Linked DNA regions of Homo sapiens: region 2 is linked to region 1. The links are contacts of gene promoters, found by promoter capture Hi-C in human tissues and cell types (Jung and others, 2019). All regions are on one chromosome and are shown on one strand. The core of a region is centred on a gene start or on the middle of the fragment in contact, and the rest is flanking DNA. Distances in the headings are between cores, read along the strand shown. Region 1 holds the start of ADORA2A (adenosine A2a receptor). Region 2 overlaps GUCD1 (guanylyl cyclase domain containing 1).

What was found. The method cuts DNA at HindIII sites, captures the fragments that hold promoters and counts their contacts. A contact is called where the count stands out against the background at its distance.
Region 2: a contact is called between a fragment that was not itself captured here and the fragment with the promoter of ADORA2A in region 1, in 2 of the 25 tissues and cell types used here (lymphoblastoid cells and spleen).

What each region holds. Positions count from the first base shown.
Region 1 is chr22:24,425,899-24,430,054 of GRCh38, forward strand. ADORA2A (adenosine A2a receptor) reads left to right here and starts at 1,701. Exons shown (of 3, transcript NM_000675.6): 1 at 1,701-1,848. All of the region lies in intron 18 of SPECC1L-ADORA2A (SPECC1L-ADORA2A readthrough (NMD candidate)), which reads left to right. ADORA2A-AS1 (ADORA2A antisense RNA 1) reads right to left here. Exons shown (of 7, transcript NR_028484.3): 7 at 3,308-4,156. RefSeq lists a silencer at 1,782-1,891 and enhancers at 3,328-3,487, 3,562-4,156. The HindIII fragment of the contact is 18,723 bases long and covers 1-4,156 here.
Region 2 is chr22:24,545,938-24,550,093 of GRCh38, forward strand. It overlaps GUCD1 (guanylyl cyclase domain containing 1), which reads right to left. Exons shown (of 6, transcript NM_001284254.2): 2 at 2,980-3,064; 3 at 1,971-2,136; 4 at 977-1,068. Among named protein-coding and RNA genes, the nearest start is that of GUCD1, 7.1 kb to the right of the region's middle. The HindIII fragment of the contact is 3,805 bases long and covers 547-4,156 here.

The sequences.
Region 1 (4,156 bases), core at 451-2,950:
AAGGCCTTGGCTTGGGAGCAAGTGGGGGAAGGTTTAGGGCAGACCAGAGGGCCGGTGAGGGGTGTGTGCTGGAGCGGGGAACCCGGGAGGGAGGGTGTTAGGCTTGAGGGTCAGGGGACACCACAGGGATTGCTGTTGGCAGAGGGACATATGAATGGTAGTTGGCCTGGGAGCCAGCATGTGACTTGAGAGCATCACGTCCTGCAAAGTCCAGGTGAGGCCTGGGCAGTGCCTGCTGTGTGGGACCACAGCCCCTGGTGGCTCTCAGCTGTGTCCTGACACTCCAAAGAAGGTCTTAGTACCCTCTCACAGACCTAATACCCGAGCCACCTAACCCCAAATGAGCTAGAACTGCCTTCCCAACCGTGTTTGCGGGGTCTGTCTTGTCTATTGCAGCGCAAACAGAGCCCTGAGCACGCAGGAGAGCAGAGGAAGGACAGACAGAAGATGGATGGATGGATGAAGGCGGGAAGCACAGGCTGAGGGGATTTAGGGCATGTGTGGTGGGGGTGCTGTGGAGAGGAGACTGCACAGGCAGGAGCTGAGCTGGTGAATGGGAGGGTTCTAGCTCCCAGAAGGGTCTGGGCCATTGACAGGAGGGGCTTGGTCCTAGGAGGTGGGTGGTCCAGAGGTTGCAAGGAGCAGAGGAGCCCAGATGGGGAAGGGAATGGAGCTGGGGTGCAGAGAGGAGCCCCCACACAACTGCCCACATCCTGTGCAGAACCTGGGGCTCTGGGTGGTGGGAAGAGGCAGTTTCATGGCGGAGGAGGCCTGGGCCCCTGCAGCCTGGACTCCATGGATCTGGCCAGGGACTGGGGAGGATCAGGTGGAGAGAGGAGCAGCAGAGCAGCTGCCCCTCGTCCCAGCACAGGGGATGATGGGAGCCCAGGGAAGGCAGGACCCTGGCTTCGGGCATTTTCTCTGCTAGAATCTCTCGATACCTCTCTCCCTTCACCTTCTCCTCCAAGTCTCACCCAGATGATGTTTCTGTGAGTTGCCATGGGGATTCTCTCACCACCCCCCGCCAACACCCCGCAGGGGAAGCTTGTTCCAGGAGTCACTGGGCAGGGGCTGCTGCTGCTCTTCTGTGCCCACTCCTCGGATGTGCCGCTGCAGCCCTGGTCTCTGGCATCGGCCGTCACCTGGTGGAGAGGCTGCCGGAGCTGGCCAAGCAGAGGGAGGCCGATGGTGCCACTTGGTGTCTCCTCTGGCATCTGGGCAGGAGACTTCTCCCCAGAGGCCCCGGGCTGGTCTGCCCGTGTCACAGGAGGACTCGCCTCTGGTCCCTCAGTGGCCTCTGCAAACCCTGAGCCAGCCTGGGGGAGGCTGCTCAGTGGGGAAGAAGCAGTGGCCAGGCTCTGCTTGGTCACCCTGCCCTCCTGTCAGCCTCCGGGGCTGCCTCGTCGCACCTGCCCAGGGACCCAACAGCCGGTCCTCACCCCTCCCATCCTCATTGCAGCCACCCTGGGGCATTGTGAGGCCCTGCACCCAGCACTGCCCCTTCAAGCCTCCCACAGGGTCCCGCCCAGGACTCCTGGGCTCTGTGTCCGCGGGGCCATCTAGAAACACTCCCTTGTCCCCCCTTCAGCGGCATAGTACCTGTTGCCCGCCATCTGAGGGAGGTGCAGGTGCCAATCCTTCACGTGACGTGACGTGGCTCACCACAGCCTGTGTACATGTGAGCAGCCGCGTGCAGAGGGGAAGCTCTGCCTGGGCCTCAGGGACTGTGACATGGAGCAGGAGCCGCCCCCAGCCAAGCTGCTTTCAGCACAGCGTGGGCCCCCAGCACCTTGGTGCGGGGTGCGGCCCCTCGGAGGAGGGCTGTCAGGTGAAGCCTCGTGTGAGGGGGTGAGTGGCCCCCAGGCGGGGAGGAGGGGGTGCTGTGGCCTTCCTGGCCCCTAGCCTGGACACATGGGGGTGTGGGGAGCAGGAGCTGGGGCCCCCAGCACTGGCCCCGGGGCTGCGATGTGGGGGCTGCTCTGTGAGGCAGGCTCAGAGCCTTAGCCTCCAGCTGCAGGGAGCTGGGTCTTGGCCCCATCTTGCCCACATCCTGCCACCAGGAGCAGAGAGCTGCAGCTGCACCCGGGCTGTGGGGGAGGGATGCCAGGTGTATCTCTGGGTCCCGGGCCCAGCCTGCACCCAGCGCCTGAAGTAAGGGCCACCGGGCAGCCCCGGAGGTCAGGAGGGAAGTGGAGCCCGTGCTGGGTGGCTGCTTACCACTGGGCAGTGAGGAAGGCACCTGCGCTGATGAGTTTGGAAGGGGTATGGGGATCCTGGGGCCCTGGGTTCTGGGAGGTTCATGCCCAGGCCCCCCTGGGCCATCCCAAAAGCCAGTCATAGTGGGGCCCACAACCTGCCGTGCCCTGCCGAGCTCCCGCAAGCCACTTGTTGATGCTTCTCAGTCCACCCCATGCCTCTCAACCGTTTCCTCCTAGACTAGGTCTCTTCATGGCGTTTCTGGGAGAATTCCTCAGTACTAGCTTCAGATCCCCAGTCGTCTCTTCCACTGTACGTGTGCCTGAAGCTCACCACATCCCTTACTTCAGTCCTTCTATTTTTCAGTCCCTGGATTTTGTATTATTTCTTGTTCATATCCACCTGTCCTTGTTTCATTTCCGCCAGTCGGTTCAGAAGTTCTCATTCTTGTCTACGGATGCCATTCCTTTCTTTGCCTCTTTGGAGATTCTAAAGGTCTCTGAAATCATTATTAGATTACTGTATTACCTTCCTTCCTACTGGAATGAATTCACCTCCATGTTTTTTATTCTGTTGCTTACCTTTCTTAGCCTTCATATACCTCTTGCGCTTTGAAATTGATTTGCGACTCCTCTTAGCTGAGCCAATGTTGTGGAGACAGGGAGTGGCCTGCAGTGCCTGAAACTGCAGGGCAGCAGCCGCCTCCCAGGAATGTCCTGGGTCCTTTCCTCCTTTGAGGTCCCCTGCCATATGCTCAGATGGGGCCAGGCACAGCAACGGGGGCACACCTCCCTTTGGCCCAGCAGTTGGGGTGCTGCCAGGCCTGGTGGAGGTACTTGGTAAACATTTGTTATGGAAAAGCAGCAGGAGGGTTCTAAGGCTGGGATTCTGGAGCCCAGGAACAGGCCAGGCATGGCTGGAGCGGGTCCGAGTCCGTGCACTGTGTCCTGTATGTTGCTCTTAGCCGCACTCAGGAGCAGATGTGCAGGTCACTGCCTAGAAGCTGGTGGGCACCTCCGTGCAGCAGGCTCTGGGGGGTATAGCCACCATCTGGGCATGTGTACAGAGGGCCTTGCTAGTGCGACATATGAGGAACCAGAAGATGTGTGGGTTTTGATTAAATGGAGTTTTAATTAAAGTGGCCAGGTTGGGGGAGGTGAGGAGGAAGGCAGGAAGCAGCAGCAGTTTTGAGTCTGACCGCGTGGAATCCTATAAGGTGGTTCTTTCAAGAGGCATTATGCACATTCCGCAGCATGTGTCCCCTGTCTGTATGGGGCAGCATCTGCCCTCTGATCTGTCCCCAACAAGGGGTAATCACAGAGAAGTATTACATTATTAATATTTAATTTCCCCTCCTGGTTAGCAACAGATGACTCAAGGAGTAATTAGATGCACAGAGCCAACAGAGAGGGATAGGAAATTGCCAGATCCTGGCCCCGCCCCCTCCCCGGGGCCTCTGACCTTCCTGTCACTCTGGGAGGCTTCTGAGGGAGGGGAGCTGGAGGCCCAGGAGCCTTCCTGCTGCTGTGCTCTCTGTGCGCACGGCCGCAGCCCTACACCACCTTCCAGTGCTCTTGGTGAGGCTGAGAGAGGTCGCTTCGTGCCTTTGGGCCTCAGTTTCCTCATCTGTAAAATGGGCTTCCTGGGACCAGCAAGATCACAGATGACAGTCATTTCCCAAGCTCCTAAGCAGGCTGCACAAGCTGTGTCTGAGGGTCCAGTGCAGTGCCTGGCCTCTAGGCAGGTGCCCCCTGGGACGCGTAAGGTTTGGCAGCTCAGCAGTGACTGGCATCGTGGCCAGCTGACTCTGTGTTGCTCCCCAGTTACGGTCCACGACACATTAGTAGCTTGAAACTGGGCACAAGGGGAGAATTTACACCACAGAAATCAGGCAAAGCCTGTAAGTCAGGGTGCCCCCGGCCAGGAGCTGATTTGCCAGCCTACGGCTGGGTAGCTCCCA
Region 2 (4,156 bases), core at 1,199-3,698, 120 kb after region 1:
CCACATCCTGGATTTGCCTTTCTGTTTCCTTGAGGGCAGATTCAGACAGAGTCTCGCTCTGTCCCCCAGGCCGGAGTGCAGTGGCACTATCTCGGCTCACTGCAAGCTCCGCCTCCTGGGTTCAGGCCATTCTCCTGCCTCAGCCTCCCGAGTAGCTGGGACTACAGGCGCCTGCCACCACGCCCGACTAATTTTTTGTATTTTTAGTAGAGACAAGGTTTCACCGTGTTAGCCAGGATGGTCTCGATCTCCTGACCTCGTGATCCGCCCACCTCAGCCTCCCAAAGTGCTGGGATTACAGGCGTGAGCCACCGCGCCCGGCCCCCAAACCCCCATTTTCTAAATCACCTATCATGTGATTATACTACGTCAATAATGAAAATATAAATCCGCAAAGAAAGGGAAAATCTGAGAAGAGCCTGTCCAGGACCTAGAGGCAGCAGGTCTGAGCCCCACTCCCACGTAGCCCAGAAAAGAATGTGACCCACATCTGGGCAAACTGCACCCAGAGTCTTCCTGAATCCAGCCCCAATGCATACAGATGAGAAGAGGAGGCCCTTGTAAGGTCACAGCAGCCCTTACACACTGGGTCCTCCCTGTTCCCCATCCCTTGTCAATCACTGCACCAGCACATTCCTCTTAGGCCATCGCCCTTTCATTAGGGGCCTTGTGTTCTGTCCCATGCTGTCTTTCTGCAAGTAGCCCAAGGGCTGGGTGCAATCTCTCTCACTCACCTATCCCTCCAGCACCTGCTCAGGATCCACCCCTGGTCAGAGCCTGGGTCATGTAGCCCCAGTGAGCTCCATAAACCAAGGCTCAAGGGGGCAAGTCAGTGCCCACAGCCACCCGGGTAGCCAGTTCTGCCTGGCTCCAGAGTCCTAGCCTTTCCTGAACACCATCCCGAGGCCTCCCCACTGCAGATCTGTGGGTGAGCAGGCATGAGAGGAAGGGCAGGTAGGAAAGTTGGGGGGCTCACCATTTCTCCACCAGCACCTTGCAGGCCTTTGCTTGTGCAAACAGCTGATTCACCCGGGTCTCTTCTGTGTCAAAGTGCTTCCTGTAGAAGGACTGAACAGAGAAGAGGGGGATGGAGTGGCCACCACCCAGGCTGCCTTCACTCCATTTAGATGAAGGAAATAAAGAGCGTGTTACAGAGGCAGAGACAGCAGGAGGGCAGAGGAGCCCCACCTGCCAGGGCAGACGGTACATGCAGCAAGCCAGATCAGAAAGCTGTCTGTCCTAAGCAGGAGCAGGGAAGCAGGACCACACAGAGGCATGAGGATGATGCTTGAGAGAGGGGTGGGCAGCTGGGCTCAGGTCAGCTCTCTGGGGAGGATCGATCACCCTTGGGCTTGTACACTCTGGCAGGCATGAGCAGGAGCCCGTAGCGAATAAGCAAGGGGGATGAGGCTGAACCACCTGGGACAGCTCAGCTACAGCTTGGCTTAGCTAGGTGTCGTCCACGGAACACACTTTGCTGGCATGGCTATGTTGGCATTATTTTTCAAAAGGCAAAAAAAAGAAAAGATGGTATTTTGGTTTTCTTCTAGACTACCAATTATATAGCTTAAAAGCTGGCTCTCCTGGTGAAAAGTAAAAAAATGTGCAAATGATGGCCGGATGAGGTCAGTGATGTTCTCAGAGGCCCTGGGCCTGCCTTGTGCTGAGGACAGTAGGAAAGAACGTAGGAAGTGGCCTCTGCACATTCTGAGGGCTGTAGAAGGCAGGTGGACAGGAGCCAGGACTCAGTACTCAGATCCTCTGGGCAGGCCCGACTGCAAGGGCACCTGCTCTGACTGGCTCCCAAATCCTGCCTATAGCCTCTCTGCTGCTGCTCCCTGGTCTCTGCACACCTGGGTATCTACCTGGGTGTCTAGCCCTTGACTGTTCCCTCTTCCAACTACTGGAACCAGGTGGCCTTATACCTCTGTGTGGCCCCACATGGGAAGGCCTGGTGGCTGGTCGCTCACCTGGTTCTTGTAGCCCTTGTCGACACCCAGGGTCTGGGTACAGAAGCGGTGCCTCACGCCAAAGTGGTGCATCAGGTAGGCCAGGTCGATGGTCCAGATGCTCCTGGTCAGCTGCAGCTTCTGCAGGGCTCTCTCAAACTCACTGTCGTCCAGCTGGCCCAGGTACCTGCAGGTAGACGAGCTGGGGAGCTCAGCTTGGTCTTGAGGGTCAACTGGTCTGAGTCACCCTCCACCCACTGGCCCAAGAGCCCCGTCACAGGTCCCATTCCCCAGAAGTCTCCCTCCTTCATCATGAGACCCTAGGTCCTGCCCACACACTGCCCAGGCTGCTTGGGGCACCGTCCTGGCTCCAGAGTTGCAGGCCTGGACTCTGCTTCTCAAATCTATTGTGTCTTGTGGGCTGTGACCTTGAGCAAGTCATTGTCTTCTCTGGCCTCTTTAGCTTCATCTCTAAAATAAGGTCCCTGATCACATCAGTGGTTTTCAAAGTTTTAGGCAAAGAACGCTTTTGTTGAATTTTCTCTTGCTGAGATTCCCAGGATGTAAAACAGATGAAGATGCAGCTGCCCTGTGGTTCCAGGAAGCCAAATGAAAAACTCTTGTACAAGGTGACGGCTACAGTCCCTCTTGGCTCTCACTGTCCAGGTTTCTGTGATATTCACACAGCCTCAGCTTAACGGTCAGCACCCCATTCTCCCAGGAGCCAGAAACTGGGGAGTGGAGGGCCTCCTATCCCAGTCACAGAACTGCCTTGTAGGACAGGCCTGGGCACCTGGGACTTCCTGGCCACCCCAAGCCCCCAGACATTACTATCATGGAGAGCTGGAAGGCCTGGTCCACCCCTTGCTCACTTTTGCAGATGGGACTAGGACCAGGTAGAAGCTTGGCCTCCTGCAAGCCCCAACCAAAGATAGCTACATGGACCATGGATCCCACCCAGGTCTCTCCCAAGCCAGAGCAGAAGATGTAGATGGGAAGCACCTGGGCCCCCAGCCCTGGCCCCACTCACCGCAGCACCATCCTGGAGCAGGCCAGGCCACAGTCCCAGTGGTAGAGCTGCTGGATGACGGGCACAGGCAGTTGCACAAAGTCCCCTGTGCAGAAACAGAGGGAGGTCACAGACCCTCAGCGCAGAGCCCACCACTCCCACCCTCATGGGAGCCAGTGTCACTGCCTCCTGCCTAGACCCTGCAGGGGCTGCTCAGGGACCTTCCCACAATCCTTCAGGAATCCCCTCAAATCCAGGCTCCTATAATAGCAGTGATCTCCCCAAAACACCGGCCAGAGCAGGTCAGCCCAACTGAAAATCCTCCAGTGAGCTGGGTCCCACATTCCTTAAGACAATACCTCCATGGCTGCTGCCCTAGCACCCTCTGCACCCTTGCCTTTGCTTGTCATAATCCCTCACACCCTGGAGGTCTTTGCACACCTGGTTCCTCTGCCTGGACATACCTGGCTTCCCAGGTGCCTGAGCTAACTCCTGCCCTTGGATGTCACTTCTCCAGTATTGCCCCTCTCAGGCCCAGTGACCCACATGTGCATTCACTTCCCACCATGCCTACTCAAAGCCCTTCTTTTGGTGGGAGCTCTGAGGAGGAGGGACAGAGTCTTTTTCTTTTTTTTCAACAGGGTCTTGCTCTGTCGCACAGGCTGGAGTGCAGTGGCATGATCTCGGCTCACTGCAACCTGCGATTCCCGGGTGGCAAGTAATTCTCCTGCCTCAGCCACCCAAGCAGCCTGTAGTCCACAGGCGTGCGCCACCATGCCCAGCTAATTATTGTAATTTTAGTAGAGATGGGGTTTCACCATGTTGTCCATGGTTCCATGGCTGGTCTCGAACTCCTGACCTCAGGTGATCCACCTCAGCCTCCCAAAGTGCTGGGATTACAGGCGTGAGCCATTCCGCCTGGCCAGCAGGGGCTGTTTTGTTTCCTGCTTTCATTCCAGGGCTGGCACATGGGAGGCACTCAGCAGATAATGTATCTGAGTTCATGAGGCCCCTGGAGGTTTGCTTGACTCCAAAGACCCCAGGACCACCAGGGTGTGAGACCATGGCCAGGAGAAGGGAACTGTCACGTAAGCTATGAAGCATATGTAATATTCTTGTGAGCTCCATCCCCCACCAACCCTGGGCGACCTCTCGGTCTGTCTTTGCCAGGCTGTGAGGTGGAGCAGAAAGGGCCTGA